Regions from separate parts of the Homo sapiens genome. Here all the other regions are linked to region 2. Evidence: promoter capture Hi-C in human tissues and cell types (Jung and others, 2019). All regions are on one chromosome and are shown on one strand. The core of a region is centred on a gene start or on the middle of the fragment in contact, and the rest is flanking DNA. Distances in the headings are between cores, read along the strand shown. Region 1 overlaps ANKRD24 (ankyrin repeat domain 24). Region 2 holds the start of STAP2 (signal transducing adaptor family member 2). Region 3 holds the start of MAP2K2 (mitogen-activated protein kinase kinase 2).

What was found. The method cuts DNA at HindIII sites, captures the fragments that hold promoters and counts their contacts. A contact is called where the count stands out against the background at its distance.
Region 1: a fragment that was not itself captured here is called in contact with the fragment with the promoter of STAP2 in region 2 in 3 of the 25 tissues and cell types used here (dorsolateral prefrontal cortex, mesenchymal stem cells and pancreas).
Region 3: the fragment with the promoter of MAP2K2 here is called in contact with the fragment with the promoter of STAP2 in region 2 in 1 of the 25 tissues and cell types used here (dorsolateral prefrontal cortex).

The regions. Positions count from the first base shown.
Region 1 is chr19:4,201,807-4,204,506 of GRCh38, reverse strand. ANKRD24 (ankyrin repeat domain 24) reads right to left here. Exons shown (of 22, transcript NM_001393985.1): 6 at 2,417-2,481; 7 at 1,581-1,638. Among named protein-coding and RNA genes, the nearest start is that of ANKRD24, 20 kb to the right of the region's middle. The HindIII fragment of the contact is 4,087 bases long and covers 1-2,700 here.
Region 2 is chr19:4,337,522-4,340,221 of GRCh38, reverse strand. STAP2 (signal transducing adaptor family member 2) reads left to right here and starts at 1,395. Exons shown (of 13, transcript NM_001013841.2): 1 at 1,395-1,570. The coding sequence starts at 1,469. The HindIII fragment of the contact is 19,957 bases long and covers 1-2,700 here.
Region 3 is chr19:4,122,813-4,125,512 of GRCh38, reverse strand. It overlaps MAP2K2 (mitogen-activated protein kinase kinase 2), which reads left to right and starts at 1,391. Exons shown (of 11, transcript NM_030662.4): 1 at 1,391-1,729. The coding sequence starts at 1,638. RefSeq lists silencers at 1,239-1,358, 1,549-1,798. The HindIII fragment of the contact is 9,633 bases long and covers 1-2,700 here.

The sequences.
Region 1 (2,700 bases), core at 130-2,629, 140 kb after region 2:
AAAGGAAATTAAACCCTAGGGACCTCTCCTCATCCTCACAAAGCCCAGGAGTACATTCGACTGCTCCTTGAGGTCAGACGACCTGGATTCCCTACGATTTACCTGCTGCGGACAAGTGACAGCCTCATTAAGCCTCATCAAGCCTCATCTGTGCAATGGGCTAATAGCCTGTGGTTCAAAGGGTAACCGGGATTTATGATGGGCTCCAGTGCCTGGCACACAGTAGGTAATAAAAAAGGAGAAGGGCCGGCACGGTGGCTCACGCCTGTAATCCCAGCACTTTGGGAGGCCGAGCAGGCGGATCACGAGGTCAGGAGATCAAGACCATCCTGGCTAACACAGTGAAACCCCGTCTCTACTAAAAAATACAAAAAAATTAGCCGGGCATGGTGGCAGGCGCCTGTAGTCCCCGCTACTCGGGAGGCTGAGGCAGGAGAATGGCGTGGACCCGGGAGGCGGAGCTTGCAGTGAGCCGAGATCACGCCACTGCACTCCAGCCTGGGTGACAGAGCGAGACTCCACCTCAAAAAAAAAAAAAAAAAAAAAAAAGGGAGAAGGGCCGGCACGGTGGCTCACGCCTGTAATCCCAGCACTTTGGGAGGCCGAGGCGGGCAGATCACCTGAGGTCAGGAGTTCGAGATGAGCCTGGCCAACATGGTGAAACCCCATCTCTACTAAAAATACAAAAAAATTTTAGGTGGGTGTTGTGGCATAGGTCTGTAGTCCCAGCTACTCAGGAGGCTAAGGCAGGAGAATTGCTTGAACCTGGGAGGTGGAGGTTGCAGTGAGCCAAGATTGCGCCATTGCACTCCACCCTGGGCGACAGAGGGAGATTCTATGTCAAGAAAAAAAGGAGGAGGCTAGGTGAGGTGGCTCACGCCTGTAATTCCAGCACTTTGAGTGGCCGAGGTGGGAGGATCATTTGAGCCCAGGAGTTTGAGATCAGCCTGGGCAACATAGCAAGATCCTGTATCTACAAATAAATTTAAAATATTAGCCAGGCATGGTGGTGCACGCCTGTGGTCCCAGCTACTTGGGAGTCTGAGGCAGGAGGATCGTTTGAACCCGGGAGGTCAAGGATGCAGTGAGCCATGATTGCCCCACTGTACTTCAGCCTGGGCAACAGAGCAAGACCCTATCTCATAAAAAGAAAAGGAAGGCCAGGAGCGGTGGCTCACGCCTGTAATCCCAGCACTTTGGGAGGCCAAGGCGGGTGGATCACCTGAGGTCAGGAGTTCGAGACCATCCTGGCCACCATGGTGAAACCCCGTCTTTACTAAAAATACAAAACATCAGCCAGGTGTGGTGGCAGGTGCCTCTAGTCCCAGCTACTCGGGAGGCTGAGGCAGGAAAATTGCTTGAACCTGGGAGATGGATGTTACAGTGAGCTGAGATCTTGCCACTGCACTCCAGCCTGGGCAACAGAGTGAGACTCCGTCTCAAAAAAAAAAAAAGAAAGAAAGAAAGGAGGAGACAGGAAGCTTCACAGCAGGTCAGGTCCCTAGGGCCCTGGGCAGAATAACCCCCAAGTCTAGCACCCTCTGGGCTTCGGGGTCAGGGCAGGGCTGGGCTGCACCCACCTGCATGGTGTAGGGCAGTCCACCCGCTGCTGTCCACGACGTCCACCACGCAGGAAGCCTGGGGATGGGGCGAGTCCTTTGAGGCGGAGCCATCCTTCTTGCTGCCTGATTTCTCTAGGACTGCCTTCCCTACCCTGGGCTCTGCTATACTTCAGCCTCACCCTTCCGTGGCCCCCAAGGGACTCCATTTTCATGAAAATTGGTGAGAAAAGAAAATAGCTGAGAGCTGAGAAGCAGCTGAGAATTTGAGGAGTGGCTGGGAACTCTGGGAGTGTCTGGGGCTAAGGAAGGACCCAGGGCTTGGGGAGAAACAGAGCTCAGGAAATACCTGGCATTGGGAGTATATATATATATTTTAGATGGTGTTTCGCTCTTGTTGCCCAGGCTGGAGTGCAATGGCATGATCTCGGCTCACTGCAACCTCCGCCTCCCAAGTTCAAGGGATTCTCCTGCCTCAGCCTCCCTAGTAGCTGAGATTACAGGCACACACCACCGCTCCCAGCTAATTTTTTGTATTTTTAGTAGAGACGGGGTTTCACTGTGTTGGCCAGGCTGGTCTCGAACTCCTGACCTCAGGCGATTTCACCGACCTCAGCCTCCCAAAGTGCTGGGATTACAGGCGTGAGCCACCGCGCCTGGCTTGGGAGTACATCTTAAATAGGAGAAGCATGTGGATGGTCTGAGAGTACCTGGTTATCCAGGGAGTAGCTAGGGTTCTGGAGTAAAAGGGGCCAAGGAATATCTAGGATTCATAGAGCATCTGGGGGTTCAAGGAATTGCTGGAACTCAGGAGTAGTAGGGGCCAAGGGAGTAGCTGAGATAAGACAGTAAATGACCTGCAGTAGTTGCTTCAAGCACTGTGGGTGCCCGTATTTGGCGGCCAGGTGGAGGGCATTGTAACCTGGGGAAGGAAAGAAGATTTACTGGAGCTCCAGCTATTCAAGTAGCTCCCAGCTGCTCCCCAAGCCATGTCAACTACTTGTGATGAGTTTCTGAGTCTAGCAAAGTCCGTAAACCCTAGTATTTCTCTCCTTTTTTCCCTGCAGAAAGGATCTTGCTCTGTGGCCCAGGCTAGAGTGCAGTGTGATCATAGCTCACTGTAGGCTTGAACACCTAGGCT
Region 2 (2,700 bases), core at 146-2,645:
TCTACTAAAATAAAAATACAAACAAATTAGCTGGGCATGGTGGCACGTGCCTATAATCCCAGCTACTCGGGAGGCTGAGGCAGGAGAATTGCTTGAACCTGGGAGGCAGAGGTTGCAGTAAGCCGAGATCGCTCCACTGCACTCCAGCCTGGGTGACAGAGTAAGACTCTGTCTCAAAAAAAAAAAAAAAAAAAGACCAGCCTGGGCAACATAGCAAGAACCTGTCTCTAGTAAGTGTAAAAATTAGCTGGGCGTGGTGGCAGGCACCTGTAATCCCAGCTACTTGGGAGGCTGAGCCAGGCGAATGGCATGAACCTGGGAGGCGGAGCTTGCAGTGAGCCGAGATCACGCCACTGCACTCCAGCCTGGGCTACAGAGCGAGAGTCTGTCTCAAAAAAAAGAAAAAAAAAAATTAGCCAGGTGTGGTGGCATGCAACTGTAGTACCACCTACTCTGGAGGCTGAGGCTGGAGGATCACTTGAGCCTGTAAGGTCGAGGCTACAGTGAGTCATGATCGCCCCACTGTACTCCAGCCTAGGCAACATAGTGAGAACTCATCCTTAAAAAAGGAAAATAAATTAGCTGGGTGTGGTGGTGCCCACCTATAGTCCCAGCTCTTCGGGTGGCTGAGGCAGGAGGACCGCTTGAGATTGGGAGGTCAGGGCTGCAGTGAACTATGATCGTGCCACTGCACTCCAGCATCGACAACAGAATGAGACACCGTCTAAAAAAGAAAAATTGCAGATGAAATTAAAGTTGCTAGTCAGCTGACTTTAAAATAGGGAGAGTAGCGTGGATTATCCAGGTGGGCCCAATGTAATCATTAGGGTCCATCAAAGTAAGAGAAAGGGCCAGGTGTGGTGGCTCATGCCTGTAATCTCAGCACTTTGGGAGGCTGAGGCGGGCAGAAAACTTGGGGTCAGGAGTTCGAGACCAGCCTGGGCCAACATGGGGAAACCTCGTCTCTACTACAAATACAAAAATTAGCCAGGCGTGGTGGCGGTCACCTGCAATCCACGCTAGTCAGGAGACTGAGCTTGGACTCAGTCTCTGAACCCGGGAGGCAGCGCAGTCTCTTGAACCCGGGAGGCAGAGGTCGCAGTGAGCCAAGATCATACCACTTTACTCCAGCCTGGGCAACAGAGTGAAACTCTGTCTCAAAATAGGAAAAATAGATAAATAAATAAATAAAGAGACAGACCATGTCTCTGTCTTTGCAGATATAGCGAAGATTATTCTCCCATTCAAGTAGACTTATACATTCTCTCTGTTCTCAGTTCCACACCGGAGAGGCGGGGATTTCCCTAGGATCACTGGACCTGCTGGGATCAGCCTCTGCCCAGCCCTGGCAGGGGAGGGAGTTGACGGGCTGACACAGGAAACTCCCCTGAAACCTGTTTCTCAGCTTCCCGGCCCAGCTGGGGCACCCACTGGAAGGAGAGGCCAGGCGGAAGACCCTGGCTCCGTCATGGCCTCTGCCCTGAGGCCACCCCGTGTCCCCAAGCCTAAGGGTGTCCTGCCTTCACACTACTATGAGAGCTTTCTAGAGAAGAAGGGGCCCTGTGACCGGGTAAGGTGGGGAGGCGGGGGCTGGCCCTGCTGGGCCACCGTGGGGAGCTGCGGCACCTCTCTGAGTCCCTGTCTCCCCACTCGCCAAGGGGGGGCGGGGTGGGTGCTGGATGGGGCAGGACACGTGCTGGGGGACTGGGGTGGGTTCTGGCCATCTGCCTCTCTGTGCGTCTATCTCTGTCTCCGTGTGTCTTTGAATTTGGTTTCTTTTTCTCTTTCTCTCTCCCTGGCCCCGTCTGTCTCTCCCGATGTCTGTCTCAGTCTCCCTCTCTCTTTGTCTCAATCTTTGCTTTTGTCTCTCGTTCACTCTCTTGAATACAAACAAGATCAGGGACTTCCTCCAGGAAATGGGGAGTCCTCTGACTCCCGAGCTTCCTCCCGCTCCCAGCCCAGGAAAAACTCCGTGAACCTCAGCTGCTGGGGCGAAGGCCAGGACAGGTGACATGTGAGGACAGTAAGAGCTAGCGGGGGCCACATTCCACAGGACAGATAGTTGCCATGGACAGTGCGTGCATGTGTGTGTGTGTGTGTGCTTATGTCTCCCTCAGAATAAAGTCCCAGCCCCTCCGTTCCCCGTGAGGCCCTATCTCTCCTTCCCAATGCCGCATATTCATTTTCTTTCTTTCTTTTTGTTAGAGACAGAGTTGCTCTGTCACCCAGGCTAGAGTGCAGGGGCACGATCATGGCTCACTGTAGCCTCAAACTCCTGGGCTCAAGTGAACCTCCCGCCCCAGCCTCCTGAGTAGCTGGGACCACAGGCATGCACTGCCTCTTCTGGCTTTTATTTTATTTATTTATTTTTGAGACTGAGTCTCACTCTGTCACCCAGGCTGCAGTGCAGTGGCACCATCTCGGCTCACTGCAACCTCCACCTCCCAGGTTCAAACGATTAAGCGATTCTCGTGCCTCAGCCTCCCGAGTAGCTGGGATTACAGGTACGCACCACCACACCTAATTTTTGTATTTTTAGTAAAGACAGTGTTTCATTTTGTTGGCCCGGCTGGTCTTGAACTCTTGACCTCAGGTGATCCACCTGTCTCGGCCTCTCTAAATGCTGGGATTACAGGCATGAGCCACCGCACCCAGCCTTTTTTTTTTTTTTTTGAAGATGGGGTCTTGCTGGCCAGGCGC
Region 3 (2,700 bases), core at 142-2,641, 210 kb after region 2:
ACATCTGTGTTCATAGCGGCACGATTCACCGAAGTGTCTAGTGGCAGATAAATGGATAAGCAAAATATAGTCCATGCACACAATAGAATATTATTCAGCCTTAAAAAGGAGGAAAATCCTGACTGGGTGCGGTGGCTCACGCCTGTAATCCCAGCACTTTGGGAGATCGAGGCGGGTGGATCACGAGGTCAGGAGATGGAGACCATCCTGGCTAACACGGTGAAACCCCGTCTCTACTAAAAATACAAAAAAATTAGCCGGGCATGGTGGTGGGCACCTGTAGTCCCAGCTACTCGGGAGGCTGAGGCAGGAGAATGGCGTGAACCCGGGAGGCAGAGTTTGCAGTGGGCCGAGATCGCACCACTGCACTCCAGCCTGGGTGACAGAGCGAGACTCCGTCTCAAAAAAAAAAAAAGGGAAATTTTTCTTTTTTTTTTTTTTTCTGCTCTTTTTTGGAGCAGGGCTACCCGATTGGAAGTATGCCCGGAGTAGTCAAGTGGGTAAATTCTAACACAGGTTACAACGTGGATCTAACACAGCTACAACAGGCACCTTGAGGACGTGGCCCTCAGTGAAATATGCCAGCCACAAAGGGACAAAACCTGTGTGATCCTACTCATATGAAGTCCCTAGAATCATCAGATTCACAGGAAGTACGACGTTGGGTTCCAGGGGCTGGGGAGGGGGATAGGGAGTGAGGTTTCATAGGGGACAGTGTTTCAGTTTCGGAAGATGAGAAAATTCTGGAGATGGTGGTGGTGGTGGTTGCTTAATGCCGCTGAGCTGTGCATTTAGAAATGGTTAAAATGACAAGTTTTATGTTATGTGTATTTTATAATAAAAATGTTTCAACATGCGCATAGTAATATATGCAATTTTATTTGTCAATTAAAATAAATTTTAAAAATGTTTTAGAGTGGCCTTGTTCTGATGAAGGAGGGGGAGTAACTGACACTCTAAGGCGGTGGGGGCTAGGGGCGTGTGTCCACGCTTGCCAAAAAGATTAAATGGACTCTGGGTGGGTCTCGTCCACTGTTCTGGGGTCTTACGGGTTCTCTCAGCCCCAGCCTGGGGCACCACAGGCTCTCAGGAGTCTGGCTACCCTGCCCACCTGTGCACGACCATCACCCCAGCCTTCATCCCTCCGTCTCCTCCCCTGCTCCCGCGCCTCATGCCCCAAGCGCTTGGGCACACGCGCCGTGGTAAGGCAAGCGAGGGCGCCCGGTCCCGGCACCGCCTCGCGTCGGTCTCCGCCCCTTTCCCCTCCGAAAGGCGGCCTTGTGCTGCTGCGCAGGCGCGGCGGCTGGGGGTGGGGTCCATCGCGGCTCCCGATCCCGTTATCGCGAGAAGCCGGTCCGCGATCTTGTGGCCGCCCCTCCCCTCCCCCTGCCTCTCGGACTCGGGCTGCGGCGTCAGCCTTCTTCGGGCCTCGGCAGCGGTAGCGGCTCGCTCGCCTCAGCCCCAGCGCCCCTCGGCTACCCTCGGCCCAGGCCCGCAGCGCCGCCCGCCCTCGGCCGCCCCGACGCCGGCCTGGGCCGCGGCCGCAGCCCCGGGCTCGCGTAGGCGCCGACCGCTCCCGGCCCGCCCCCTATGGGCCCCGGCTAGAGGCGCCGCCGCCGCCGGCCCGCGGAGCCCCGATGCTGGCCCGGAGGAAGCCGGTGCTGCCGGCGCTCACCATCAACCCTACCATCGCCGAGGGCCCATCCCCTACCAGCGAGGGCGCCTCCGAGTGAGTGGGCAGGGGTCAGCCGGAGGCTTGGGGTGCACGGGGCAGGGAGCCCTCGGGGAAGGACGGGGCGAGGGGACGGGGGTTCGCGAGGAGTGCACGAGGCAGGGGGGTCACGGGGGAGGACGGGGTGAGTGGTGCACGGGGCAGGGGGTTCTCGAGGGGAGGACAGGGCAGGGGACCCTCGGGGGAGGACGGGGCAGGGGGCCCTCGGGGGAGGACGGGGCAGGGGGCCCTCGGAGGACGGGGCGAAGGGTGCACGGGGCAGGGGGGTCTTTGAGCAGTGAGATTGGGCGAGGGGAGGTCCTTGTGGTGGAAAAGATGGGGTGTGGGGTTCCTGAAGAGTGGAATTGGGATAACGGGAGTCTCTGAGTAGTGAAGTTGGGGTGAAGGATGTCTCTAAGAGGAGAGGATGGGGACAGGGGTCCCTGAGCAGCGAGGTTGAGTGAGGGGAGGTCCCTGCAGTGCAGAAGATGGGGTGTGGGGCTTCTGAAAAGTGAAGCTGGGGTGAGGGGAGTCCCTCAGTAGGAAAATCGGAATGAGGGGTGTCCCCAAGGAGAGAACAGGATGAGGCTCCCCAAGCAGTGAGATCGGGGTGAGGGGTATCTCTAAGAGGAGAGAACACAGTGTGGGGTCCTTGAGTAGTGAAATGAGGGTGAAGAGTTCCTAAGAGGAAAGGACGGAGTAAAGGTTGCCGTAGTCATGAGATGAGGGTGAGGGGAGACCCTGAGTAGGGAAATCGGGGTGCAGGGCATTCCTGAGAGGAGAGGATGGGGTGTGGGGAGGTCAGGCAGCCCCTGAGGAGGAAATCTGGGCAAGGGGGCTCCAGAGGGGAGAGGATGGGGTGAGGGGTCCCTGAGTAATGAGACTGAGATGGGGTAGGGTCCCTGGTAGGAAAAGACGGGGTAAGGGTCCCTCAATAATGAGATAGGGCCAAGGGAGGTCCCTGTGGGAAAAGACAGGGCATGGAGTCA